Linked DNA regions of Homo sapiens: region 1 is linked to region 2. Evidence: promoter capture Hi-C in 16 types of primary human blood cells and fetal thymus (Javierre and others, 2016). All regions are on one chromosome and are shown on one strand. Each heading gives the region's core, a stretch centred on a gene start or on the middle of the fragment in contact. The rest is flanking DNA. Distances are from core to core; before and after follow the strand shown.

Region 1 (6,927 bases), core at 1,392-3,891, 750 kb before region 2:
CTTTTCTTCAACAAAATGCAGCCCCACGCTTCTGAGTTCTCTATAAAACCCCACTGGCGAGATATGGAGAGCAGGAGGACCTAGGGCTCTTTGGGGTCAGGAAGATGGAGTTGAAGGCCCAGGAGGCTGCAGGGCCCTCACCTGGCTGATGGGCCCAGGGTCACTCTGCATTTGTCTCTCCCACTGCTGTCTGGCAGGAGGGGCTGATGATGGCAATGTAGAAAACACATGCCTACCTCAGGAGGACCCCCGTGTCTACAGAGGGGAGTCTCCCTGCCAGGTTTGCTCATGGAAAGACTGCTCCTCTAAGGTACAGGAGAACCCTCCCCCGGGCCCTCCTCCCCACACTTAGGTTTGAGGAAACAGACCCAGAGACCCCCAGGGGTGGCTTGGTTGCATACATGCTTCCGCTGGATTCCCTGCCAGGGCCCCTCTCTCACAGGACAGCCCTGCCTCCCTGTGGGCCTGGAGTGTGCAGTGGTTTCGTGTGTGCGCAGACACGCATCTTGTGTGCATGTGTGCCTTCTCACCCACGCACCCCAGGCGTGAATGTCTCCCCTTGGAGCACAGGTGAGGAAACTGAGGCAGTAAAGGATGAGTGAGGGGACTCGGGCTTAGCAGGGAGAGCTTGGGCACCTTCAGGTGTCTTAGCCTGAGATGGGCACAGAGGCCCAGGGGAGATGGAGCCAGGCCTCTAGGTGCTGCCAGAGCCAAGGCCAGAAGCCTTGCCCAGGCCTTACCCCACCACTGCCCAGGCCCCTCTGAGAGCAGCTCTCTTAATCCTCCCCAATAAATGGCCTCACTGGAAGATAAGGGAGCAGTTCTGCCAGTCGAAGGGGAAGTAGGTGACTGAGATAGAGCAGGCGGAACGGAAGATGGCAGGCGGCAGCCAGTAGATACAGCCGTCAGGGGACACGAGCACATTGCAGTAGAGGGCCACCTCGAAGACACCGTCCACGCTGTATGCACAGAACAGGCCAGGCCACGAGGCTGTGGGCTCAGCCCCCGACACCCCAGCCCCAGACCAGCCCCTGTGCCCCATGTGGATAGGGGCCTGGGGACACCAGTCCCTACCAGCCTGTCACCCCCTGACTGGTTCCCACCCGGACCACTAGGTCCCCCCAGCAATCCTCCTGCCACCCCCCGCCCCAGACAGACTTCCTCAGGCACCACCTCCTAATTTCTGCTTATCTTACTCTCTCTTGTTTTAATCATAATAATAATAATAATAATAATAGTCATAATAGCGACTAATGTGTTAAGCCCACACCATGTGCCAGCCCCCGAGTGATGCACTTTTCATGCCTGTCTTGTTGACTCTCGCCAGCTTCTATAGGACCCGTCAGCGGCCCCATGTTACAGGGAAGGGAGCAGCCCACCCAGGTGGCCCAGCCCAGAGGAGATGGAGCCTGGCGTAGGGTCTGCTCTGCTGGCCCTGGGGTCAGAGGGCATACCCAGGGCCCTGCCCTCGGCACCTGCTCCATCCAGTTCTTCCCTAGCCCCACAGGTGCCCGATTTGCACCCTCTGCTCATCTTTCTCTTTTCCCAGAGTGCCTTGTTCTGCTGGGCCCAGACCCTGTGTCCTTTGTCCCCCACACCCCTGCCTGCACCCCCTCCTCACTTGTTCTCCAGCACGATATCCGGCCGCCACACCATGGTGGACGGCACCCTCAGCACCCACAGGCCTTCGTAGTCTCGCGGATCCCAGCGCAGGCGATAGTCGCACCACTGCTGCAGGGGGAGGGGCAGTTGCTAGGCCTCTGCCCTCTGCTGCACCACAGCCCTAGGAGTGGGCATCCAGCCCAAGAGGACAGAAGAGGCAGGAACGGGGCAGGCAACTCTCAGGAGGCCTTGGGGTGGTGGGGTGGGACCCCTGATGGAAGGAGGGTGGCAGGGTGGCCTCTTACCATCTCTATCCAGACATTGGTGGTGAGGGCTTCCTCTCGCTCGTTCTGGGGGTGCAAGGGTGTAGTATGGAGGGCTCAGCCCCCGACTTCAGTGCCAGTCCCCACAGGCCACCAATGGGGCCAAGCATCCCCCAGCCTCTTGATAGTACTCCCCCCACAACCATGGGGGTTTTCCAGACCCCAGCCTGTCCGATTTAGGGCCCTCCAACCTCTTGGTGGCTGGAGCCACCCCATGCTATCCCCAGCAGGTCCCAGGGCGTGGTGCGCTGACCCCTCCTCCGTCCTGCGGCTTACCAGGGAGATGAGGTTGGTGAGGGTTAGCTTCAGGCTGACATTGACCACATCCGAGTCTCGTTCCGCGGGCCGCAGGTTGGGGTCGTAGTTTTGCATCAGGTCTGCGAGCAGGCGCTCCTCCTGGTTCCGGCCCTGGGCCCCTGCAATAGACAGGCGTGAGCCTAGCAGGAGCTTGGAGGTGGAAAGAGCGGGGAGGCCCTGGGGGTGTGAAGTGGGGACTCAGGGAACTGGGTCCAGGGCAGGCCCCAATACCCCTCAGACCCTCCATCCCCTGAGGCTGTGGACCCCAGCTCTGGGACTCCCCAGGCTGAGATTCCTTTGTGTCCCACCCAGGCAGACAGCCAGCAGCAGCAGGAGGAGCAGCGGCCCCTGGCCCCCATGCATGGTGCCTCAGCTCTCTGCAGTGACAGGGGTGGGACAACAGCTCCAAGGTCTGGGGCAGAGAGAGATGGGCTCTGGGTGTCATATAACAGCCTACACTCCCACCCCAGCCAGCCCAGCCAGCCCGGCCAGCCTGGCCCAGCCCCACCAGCTGTCTGACCACAGCGTTGTCAGCTGTTCCAGGATGGACACAATGCTGGGCTCAGGTTACCTGGGCTGGAGAGGGGAGACAGGGGCCCCGTCTGCCCCAAAAGAGACATCCACCTTCCAGCCCCAACTCGGGCTCAGTTGTCCCAGCCTCACCTCCATGTTCCACATGGGGGGCAAGGACAGCCAGGGCCAGCTGGGTGTGGTAGGGAAGGCAGGTCGCCGAGGAACCTGACAGCGGCTCCAGAGAGGGCTGAGGTGGACTGCCTCCTACTCCCTCCAGGGAGTCAGGATTTGGGTGGGTGTGAAGGCTGTTGGGTAGGCATGTGAGGGTTTTTGTGTTTGTTTGTTTGTTTGTTTTTTGCTGGAGTGCAGTGGTGCGATCTTGGCTCACTACAACCTCCACCTTGATTCTTCTACTTCAGCCTTCTGAGTAGCTGGGACTACTGGCATGCGCCAACACGCCTGGCTAATTTTTCTTCTTCTTCTTCTTTTTTCTTTTTTGTATTTTTAGTAGAGACGGGGTTTCACCATGTTGGCCAGGCCAGTCTTGGAACTCCTGAACTCAAGTGATCCACCCATCTTGGCCTGCCACTGGGCATCCCCCTCACTGGGCATCCCCCTCACTCGGCCTCCCCCTCACTCGGCATCCCCCTCACTCAGCATCCCTCTCCCTGAACTTCCCCCTCGCTGACCTTCCCCCTCACTGGGCTTCCCTTTCCCTGAGCTTCCTCCTCCCAGAGCTTCCCCCTCCCTGAGCTTCTCCCTCCCTAAGCTTCCCCCTCACTGGGCTTCCCTTTCCCTGAGCTTCCTCCTCTCTGAGCTTCCTCCTCCCTGAGCTTCCCCCTTCCTGAGCTTCCCCCTCCCTGGGCATCCCCCCCACTGAGCTTCTCTCTGTGTGGCCCACTTTTCCTGGAATTTACAAAGCCCTCGTTTCCTTCTCACTTCTGAGAGCCTTGCCTTTCCATTTTGCCCTCTGGTCCCCCTAGATGCAGTTTTCTTATCCTCTTTTGCAGACCAGTTTCTCTCCACCTCTTTACTCTCCTCCATGCCCACATTTTACCAAATTCAATGGCCTCCATGATCAGGAAGCACTGCCAAACAGTGGACCACCTGTCCCTGCATCCCCTACCCTCCACCCTCCTGTTTTCTCCCTTTCTCTGCTCTGGGAGAGATGGCCTAGAAGCCTTCTTGGTGTTCTCCGAAGGGTAAATCATCAATGAGGAATGGAAGTTTCTTGCAGGGGTTACGTGTGCAGGGACAGGACCCATTCAGAGAAAATCATCTGTAGAATTGTCTAACACTACTTCTCCTTTGCCACCCTCTGTTATAATGGCTGGTAGAGCAAGATACTCATTTCCTAGTCTCCCTTCAGATAGGCTAGCCATGTGATGTTTTGACCTGCGGGATGTCTACTGGAGCTTTATGGAAAAGTTGTTTTTTTTTTTTTCTTTGAGTTGGAGTTTCACTCTTGTCGCCAAGGCTGGAGTACAATGACTTGATCTCGGCTCACTGCAACCTCTGCCTCCTGGGTTCAAGCGATTCTCTTGCCTCAGCCGCCTGAGTAGCTGGGATTACAGGCGGGCGCCACCAAGCCCATCTAATTTTTGTATTTTTAGTAGAGAGGGGGTTTCACCATGTTCGTCAGGCTGGTCTTGAACTCTTGACCTTAGGTGATCCAGCCGCCTCAGCCTCCCAAAGTGCTGTGATTACAGGCGTGAGCCACTGTGCCCGGCCTATGGAAAAGTTTTGCTTCTTGATGAAAGGGGTCAGAAATGGCTGGCCCTTTTCTGCCTGAACATAGGTGCTAAGTGTGCAGCTGTGGCTGTCAGCTCACAAACTGGGGCCAACAGGTCTGAGGACAGAAGCCAACTTGCCATGGAGGCAGGGCTGGGCAGATGGCAAAATGCCTGGGTCCCTGATAGCTTTGTTAGACAGCCGAGCCAACATGATCACCTCCGCCTCCCTATTATTACTATGTGAGAAAAAGGAAACCTTATGTGTTTAAGCTACAATTCCTTCAGCTTTCTGTTCCTTGCAGGCCAGTGTATTACTGATTCACTGTCCATTGAAAGAGAGAGGGTAGCCCTGTTGGTCTGGAGAGAGTAAGGAACACTCTCTGGCTTCCCGGAAAGCTGTGCCTGTGAGCATGGCTTCCTGGGGACAGAAGATGGAGTTCTATGTCAGTCAGAGTGGACCAGTCCTGACAGCACCACCGTGCTGGGGGAGTGGGTGCCTCTGGTGGAAACTGTGGTGACCCTGGGAGCCTGTGCAGGAGGCACCCCCCCGGTTTTGTGTGACATTTTGGGGTTGTCTTCTCTGGAAGTCCACAGCCACTTGAGCAGGGCCTAATAGAACTGAGGACTCACCTGGTGGTTGAACCAAGACCTGCTGCCAGCAGCGCCACCATGAGGCAGAGAGAAGCAAAGACTGTGGCTGAGGGCCCTAGACTCTCTGTGCACAAGACGGACCCTCCCTGAGTTGATGGGCTATTCCTGGGGAAGTCTCAGATTTCCTGCTCACCTGACAGGTGTGAGAACAAACTGGCTTTCCTATTTAGACAGGACAATTAAAGATTTGTACCTTGAATTTTGTGAATAGTTCATGCTGGAAGGCAGAAGTTACTAGGGTCAGTTTTGGTTTTAAATGGTTTTTCTTTTTCCTTGGTTACATCTAAACATTAAAAATCTCACCTTCTGTATATCTGAGTTAATGAGGTCACCAATTCCCCCCTGAGGGAAATGGGTTAAATCACCACCCATTAAATGTGCAGGTCACATGAAAATGCTCCTACTAGAAATTCAATTTTCACAACACCCCATGACTAGGACTTACTAGACACACATTTTGCAGATTAGAAGATGGAAGGTGAGGAGTGAGATGAGGAGCAGCTCACTCAAGGTCACATTGCTGGTGTAACAAATGACACCAAAACGTTGTCACTTAAAACAACACACATTTATTATCTCACACAGTTTCTGGGGGTCAGGAATCCAGGAGTCACTTAGCTGGTGGTTCTGGCTTAGGGACTTTCATGGGGCTGCACATAAGATGTCTACTGGGCTGTGATCTCATCCGAAGGCCCTACTGGGGCAGAGGATCCACTTCCACATTCACTCACGTGGCTGTTGGCAGGAGGCCTTAGTTCCTTGCCATGTGGGCCTCTCCATAGGGCTCCTTAACATGCCAGCTGGCTTCCCCAAAGTGAGAGATCCAACTGATGTGAGAATGAGGGCTAATGAGCAAGAAAGAGGCCATAGTGTCTTTCCTAACCAAATCTGGGAAGTGAGGTACCATCACTTCTGCCTCATTCTATTGGTTACCCAGACCCACCCTGGTACAGAGTGAGGGGACTGCACAAGGGTGTGAATACTGGGCATCACTGGGGCCATCTTGGAGGTGGACCACCATACAAACAGACCCTTGTCTCCCAATTCCTGCAGCCTTGGCCTTTGGCCCTCAGGATAAGATTGAGTGGAGGCTGCCTTTGGGATAGGGTTGCTAGATTTAGCAAATAAAAATAGGGGACAAATTTCAGAGAAACAACGAATGATTTTTTAGAATATGTATGCCCCAAATAATGCATGACAACCCTAATTTGGAGAGGAGTAGGTGCTGGGGGGCAGGGACCCTTTGGGGAGAGGTGCTGCGTTCTGGTCCTCTAGGATTGTGTGTGCAACCTCAGGCTGACCCCAAGTCTTTGTGGATGTCGATCCTGACCTTTCCACTCCAGTCCTCAACTTCCCAAAGGGACCTAGGCAGAGAGGTCAAGGCAGAAAGAGCTAGGAAAGGATACTCTGGGGTCTGGAGGGAGGGAGGTGTCCTCAACCTCAGTCCCAGGTGAGGCCTCAGAAGCCTGAGGTTGAAGGGTAGGTAGGAAGAGGGAGGCTGGAGGGGCCAGAGAGTGAAGGCGCAGATTCCTGCCTGCTCTACCCCACACCTTGGGGGAGGAGAAGCAGAGAAGGGGCCCTATCTGTCTCACCCCTATCAGAGCTCTCCCCCTGAGGCCACCCTGAGTGGCCTCCTCCCTGGCCCCTGAGCCAGCCTCGGGCCTCCCCCCAAATCGTCCTGCCCACCCACTGTAGCCGATGTCCACCCTCAGACCATCTCGGGTGGCCCCTGTCTTGATTTCAGGGGAGCCATTGAGCATTGAGGAGTGGCTGCTCCCTCCCTTCCTTGGACTCTTCCCCAGTCTGAG
Region 2 (6,556 bases), core at 2,488-4,987:
CTGAAGGAACATATTACCCCTTGGTCATCTCTTGTGTTGAAAAATGAACTCAGTTTTCTGAAATTTTCTTCATAAAACTCATTTTCCACTTCTGGTAAATTAAATTTTTATTGAAAGCCTACTGTGTGTCAGGCTACGTATTCAGCTCTAAAGAAACAATGGTGAGCACTACAGACCTCCTCACAGAGTTTATAGTTCGGCAAGCAAGGCTGACATTAAATAAAAATTTACAGTGAAAAAGTAAAAGTGGCTCTTCTCATCTCTGAACATCACAGGTAGAGGAGACATAATTGGGCACCTGAAATGGCTGGACTGTAGGGAACTGCTCCAGTTTCCCCATCAAGAGGAATAGGCAGACACACAGCACCGAATCCAATAAACTGAAGGCCGGCAACTCCTTTGGTTACAACTAACTGATTCACTGAAACTCCTGTTAAAACTGACTGTGGGTGTGGAGCCAACAGCAAAGGTGTTGTGGTGGTCATGAAGGTGATAAACTGCCCAACAAAAGCAAACCACCTCCTATATGCAAATCGCCACCACCAAGAACTCCGGGGCCACTCTCAACAGCATCCAGCACATGCTCCACAAGAAGTACCATCACCCAGATCTATGCATGGCAGCTTCCACAGAGCCAGCACCAGTCTGCATAGCCAGAAGCCTGTGAGGATGAAGAGGAAGGGGACCTGCCCCACCAATCCGCCAAAAGCTCCTGAGCACCAGCCTCCACCCCACAAAACAATAAAGATGCTTACAGACTTTTCTCAATAAGTGAATAAATATAAATAAATAAAAATGTTCAAATTGGAAAGTAGAGGTTGAGAAGTATAGATTGCTTTACATCTCTTTGTTCCTTCTGTTCAATGGATCTTCTCATTTTTGAGGCACAATGACCAAAACTGGATATCCAAGGTTTTAATAACAAGCAAGCAAACAAGTAAAATGAACTATGTCCTAGCTTTTCATGTCATATCTAACACATCTAACACATTTAGCACAACACTGCCCTTTTCCTCAAGAACAATACACTCCTATTCATGTCCATCTTATGTTCAATAGCAGTATGTTTCTGCTGTGTGTCCCTGACCAATCTTCCTTATCGATATTGCACTGGAGGTTTCTGGTCCTTAAGAATGCATGAATCTACTCCTATTAAACAGCCCATGCTTACAGCACTACTTTTCTAATTTATCAGGATCAATTTGACTTTTTTACTATCTTTTAGGTTATTATTAGCAACAATCTAATTTTACCCAAGGTAAGATAAAAATACTGGATAAAAGGAGCCAAGGATATTCTCTCAATCTCTCCCTCTGCCCCACCAATTCCCATCTGTCTCACAATAGGGTACCTCACAGGTTCACAATACTTCAGCACTGAAATTCTTTGGAAACCTGGAGAATTACAGAGTCTTAGAATAAAGAGAAATTGTTTGCAAACCGTTCTTACCTCCTGCACGTTGGCCAGCTCCAGAAGTTCTCCAAAGACATACACTCCGGGAGCCTCTAAGACCTGGCTTATGAGAGCAGTGAGGGCTGAGCCACTGGTACCTTTGGCTAGTAAAATAAACTGCTCCAGGAGATTACTTGAGGGTTTCTGTTCCCCTGCCATTCTCTGGCCTTGAAATCTGTCCAAAAGAAAATTGTGTCAGTCATTCTTCCTTCTCCTTTGCAAAGTCTGTGCCTATTCAGTGCTGAATCAAACACCAGAATACTTTACTTTTATAGTGTTGATAAAGAAAAAACAGGACAAGTGCAGTGGCTCATGCCTGTAATCCCAGCACTTTGGGAGGCTGAGGCGGGTGGATCACCTGAGGTGAGGAGTTCGAGACCAGTATGGGCAACATGGCAAAACCCCATCTCTACTAAAAATACAAAAATTAGCTAGGCTGGTGGCAGATACCTGTAGTCCCAGTTACTTGGGAGGCTGTGGCACAAGAATTGCTTGAACCCAGGAGGTGGAGGTTGCAGTGAGCCAAGATTGTGCCACTGCACTCCAGCCTGGGCAACAGAGCGAGACTGTCTCAAAAAAAAAAAAAAAAAAAACAGTTCCTGAGTCCAGATGCAATGACCACCTTATGAGATGGGTGGAGTTCAACCTGGAGTTAAAAGGATCTTGTCCTAAATTCTGGTGTTTGAAACACACTTTGTAAAAGTCATTTCACTTCCACCTGTCCCTCCTCCAGAGGCAACACCTTCTAAGTCCTTAAACCTGACCAGGACCTAAAGAAAAACACATGAGTTTCTCAGCAGCTGTTTTATATCCACCTCGTTTATACATTCTGGTTAAGAAATGGAGGATACTGCCTATACACAGAGGCACCGGATGTAAGCAAAAGCAATCAGTTACAGCTCCCACTGTGTCATCAGAATCCAATCTACAGCCAGACAGATAAGGAAAACAAAAAACCAGACAAGAAAGATGTCTCATTTAATCAAGTCAAGTAAGCACAGATAAAGGGAGACATCATTTTGAAAGAAAAGTAGCGATATATTCAAACTAAGAACATACATGCTGTGTAAGACCATGGGGAAAAATCCCTGTATTCGGCCTCCTCCTGATACGACATTTTAACCAAACGTGACTTCAGAATGTGTAAAAAAAAAAAAACCTCAAGAAAACGATAAAAAGATTTGGGAAAACAGTGAAAATATTGTATCAGCGCTCCGAAGACATTAAGTACAGGAGGGTCCCTCAATTGTGTAATCTAATTACACGCTGAGTGTACAGGAGTTCCAGGTAAGATTTCTCCTCCAAGAATGATACATATTAGAGCAGCGTGACAAAATGAACGAAAAACGGTATAGTAGAGTGCAGCAAAGAACAATTTGAAGAATAGTTTGGTGCAAGAGGAACTAAGTTTTGTGTTGGCAGGCACACAGATTAGTTGCCCTTTCACAGTATTAGAGAAACAAGTATGTCGCCTCACTTAGGGTTACCTAAGAAGGTCCGGCCAGACACAGGAAAAACAATGAAGTGCTGGGGAACAACGAGTTTGAGGACGGAAGGGAAAGGGAAAAGAGAAGGGGAGAGGATACGAGGAAGAAGGAAAGGAGTAGGGAAGAAAGGAGGGTCGGTGACGGTAAAGAGGGAAGGAGCGAAAAGGCCCTTCCAAGAGGACCCGTGTGAAGAGACAGATGGGGATCTCTGCAAAGAGTCCCAATGTTAGGAGGTGGGGGTGGAGAGGGGGTAGGGAAATGGAGAGAAACTTCTGTCCCTTCAAAAAATCTCGGCTTAAGGAGCAAAGCCTGTGGGCGCAGAGAATGTAAAGAGACGGAGACAGTCGCTTTCTTCTGGAGTGGGAGGGCCAGAGGCTAGGCACAGAGCGGAGATAAATTCCCGTCAGGGGAGGGCGCTATTTGGATGGACTGGAGAGGGGCAAACGAGCAGCCTTTGGGGATGGGAGAGCGAAAGCAGCCACAGCACTGAAGCTGAGGGTCGCAAGCTGCAGCAGACCTCACGGTGGGCGGTATGCTCCAAGCAGGGCCGCAGGCGTGGAGTGAGGAGCCGCGGGACGCGCTCCCCAAGGCGGGGGCGGGGCGGGCACGGCCGCGGGCTTCCTTGGCGGCGGGCTCTAAGCCGGATCGTCTGGCCGAGCCTGGAGCGCCGGCCCCGCTCGGCCCACCCTCTCGCTAGCTCCTACCTGTCCACGCCACCTCTCGGTCCTCTTAGTCGCTGGCTCGGCCTCCCGGCGCCTGCCCGCAGGTTGTCAAGCGTCCATGATCACCCCGGCGTCCGGCGCTTTTCTGTCTCCGCCGACCCGTCGCCCGTGCAGCTCCCCCGGAAGCCTCCCACCGCTGCACTCGCGTTCCGCCCACACAAGGTTCCACCCGCCGCGTTTACAGCCTTCGACCTCCGGTGGGGAAGTGGGAGCGAGGGGGCGGGGAAGAGTCTGCAGCCCGGGAACCAGGCGGGGAGGGGGTGGCTAGGGGCCCAAGGAGAGGAATGCGGCCTAGACGGTACTGCAGCCCAACCGTCGCCATCGCCATCCCGGGCCCCAAATCCTCCCCTTAGGCTGTGCTTTCTCTCTCAGGAGCTCCCCATGGCTACTGCGCTACCCCTGGGCACCGAGATACATTAAGCCTACTAACTACCACTTATTGAGCGTTTTACCATGTGCCAGGTGCTGTACATGCATTATCTCGTTGAATTCTCATAACTGTGGCTTGTATTATTGTTCCCATTTTTCAGGTGAGTTAACTAAGTCCAAAAGTCAGAAAGTGACAAAGCTTGCTATCTTTGTCAAACCCAGGCTATCTGAGGCCGAAGACGATGTTCTTGACCTCTATTCAGAAAATGTTTTAAAATAAGCAAGAGATGGGTTAAGCCAACAATGGTTCTATGACCAAAATGTCATTGATAGAGTTGCATCTGGTGCTTACCAACTCCCCTGGGAAGATGGCTAAGAAATGCCACATAATTGAACACTTAAACTGATTCCTGTATACACCACAGTCTTTCAGGTCTTGAAAATGAGAGAGAAAAACAGCCCTATTTGCCTATCGTGCGTTAGAATGCAGAAATGAGACAGGACAAATGCAAAGGAGCCTAGCATCAACCAACTCATTCATTTATTCAAAAACATTTCTTTAGCACCTATTATGTCCTGAAAAGTTATATGAAGATAAAACAAAGCTCTTACCCTCAAAAGCTCCAATGTGTTAAATGCTATGGGGAAGATATGACAACACTTTGGAAGCACAGAAGAGGTTGGGGAAGAAAAAAACAGACAAAAAGGGGAAAAAAGGGGGGTAGTGCCCATTGTCACAGAGGCTCGCACTGTGCAGCATATACTGATGTCAAAAAGAAACCCAGAGTGGTTTGACCCCAGGGTTTTCAAGAGTGAGAAATGAGGGGTACAGAGCTGGAGTCAGGTCATCAAAGGTCTTGGAATCCACATGCCAGGTACTGGGGAATTACTTAGGCTTTTTAAGCTAAGGAGAGGTATGAATAATTGCCTTGTTAGAGTGATCATGCTAGGTGCTATAGGAGTGGATTGGATGTGGAGAGAATTGGAGGCAGGGAAAACCTCCGGTGAGGTGACCGATTTATTCTAGATAAGAGATTGTGTTGCCGGGCGCGGTGGCTCACGCCTGTAATCCCAGCACTTTGGGAGGCCAAGGTGGGCAGATCACCTGAGGTCAGGAGTTCGAGACCGGCCTGGGCCACATGGCAAAACTCTGTCTCTACTAAAAATACAAAAATTAGCTGGGCATGGTGATGCACTACTAATCTCAGCTACTCTGGAGGCTGAGGCATGAGAATCGCTTGAACCCAGGAGGTGGAGGTTGCAGTGAGCCGAAATTGCGCCACTGCATTCCAGCCTGGGCAACAGACTGAGACTGCATCTCAAAAATACAAACAAAAACAAAGGTAGTGGCAATTGGGGATGAAAAAGAAGGGACACTGTTGGAGACATTTAGACTATAGAATCTATAAGACTTGGTGACCAGTTGAATATAAGGAGAGGGAGGGAGCATAACACCCAGGATTCTGCGCTGGGAGGCCAGAGCTGTCTAGAGCTAGTGTTAAGTGAACAGGGCTATGGAAGAGGAGGGACAAATATGAGAGTGAGAGGAAGACAAGTGAGTTTAGTGTGACTTCATAGAAATTCCAGCAATGCCTCTACTTCCTCTAGAACAATGTCCAGACTCCATGGCTGCAATTTGGATTTAGTATTTTGGTTTTTTTTTCCCTTAAGAGACAGAGTCTTACTCTGTCACCGCGGCTGGAGTGCAGTGGCACTATCATAGCTCACCTCAGCCTTGAACTTCTGGGCTCAAGGGATCCTACCACCTCCACCTCCCAAGTAGCTAGGACTAGAGGTGCGTGCCACCACACCCGGCAAATTTATTCCTTTTTTTTTTTTTAAAGATGGGGTCTCACTATGTTGCTCAAGCTGGTCTTCCCTGATCTCAAGTGATCCTCCCACCTTGGCTCCCAGAGTGCTGAGATTACAGGCGTGAGCCACCACGCCCAGGCAGTGGCTGCACTGAAAGCCCTTCAAAGTGTGCCTCCCTCCTAACTCCAGCTTTGTCGCACCCCACCCCCTCCCCCTTCTCAGTCCAAACTCCCATGCCCGGCACAACTTACACCCTCCCTCTCAGACACCACACCTATGCTCAAGCTTGCTCTTTTTTGGAATGCTCTTCTATCAGCCTGTAAAAAACCTGCCAACTCTAAAAGCAAAGATTTCTGAAATCCAATGCAAAAAACACTAACCATAATAAAAAGCACGGAACTATTGCACTGTGTTAAAATTAAGAATTTCTGCTTGTCAGATGCAGTGGAGTACACCTATAGTCTTACTATAGCTACTTGCGAGGCAGAGGCAGGAGGATCACTTGATCCCAGGAGTTCGAGGTTGCAGTGGGCAATGCTGGTGCCTGTGAATAGCCACTGCATTCCAGCCTGGGCAACACAGCAGAGACCCCATCCCTCAAAAATATAATTTGTTTCAAAAGACACCAGTAAGAGAGTGAAAAGACAAGCCATGCCTTGGAAAAGATATCTGCAAAGCATATATCAAAGAACTCCATATCCAGACTGTAAAGAA

Evidence for each region. The method cuts DNA at HindIII sites, captures the fragments that hold promoters and counts their contacts. A CHiCAGO score of 5 or more calls a contact.
Region 1: a contact is called between the fragment with the promoter of CHRNG here and the fragment with the promoter of COPS7B in region 2, in 4 of 17 cell types (M1 macrophages, erythroblasts, M2 macrophages and 1 more). The highest score is 8.2, in M1 macrophages.

The regions. Positions count from the first base shown.
Region 1 is chr2:232,535,406-232,542,332 of GRCh38, reverse strand. It overlaps CHRNG (cholinergic receptor nicotinic gamma subunit), which reads right to left and starts at 2,641. Exons shown (of 12, transcript NM_005199.5): 1 at 2,531-2,641; 2 at 2,202-2,341; 3 at 1,908-1,952; 4 at 1,622-1,731; 5 at 804-959. The coding sequence starts at 2,585. CHRND (cholinergic receptor nicotinic delta subunit) reads right to left here. Exons shown (of 12, transcript NM_000751.3): 12 at 5,669-6,927. RefSeq lists enhancers at 760-819, 6,649-6,927. The HindIII fragment of the contact is 5,406 bases long and covers 1-3,506 here.
Region 2 is chr2:231,783,626-231,790,181 of GRCh38, reverse strand. COPS7B (COP9 signalosome subunit 7B) reads right to left here and starts at 3,737. Exons shown (of 7, transcript NM_022730.4): 1 at 3,644-3,737; 2 at 1,450-1,627. The coding sequence starts at 1,611. It also overlaps the pseudogene RPL28P2. RefSeq lists silencers at 3,480-3,739, 3,830-4,009, 4,020-4,099. The HindIII fragment of the contact is 4,652 bases long and covers 1-4,231 here.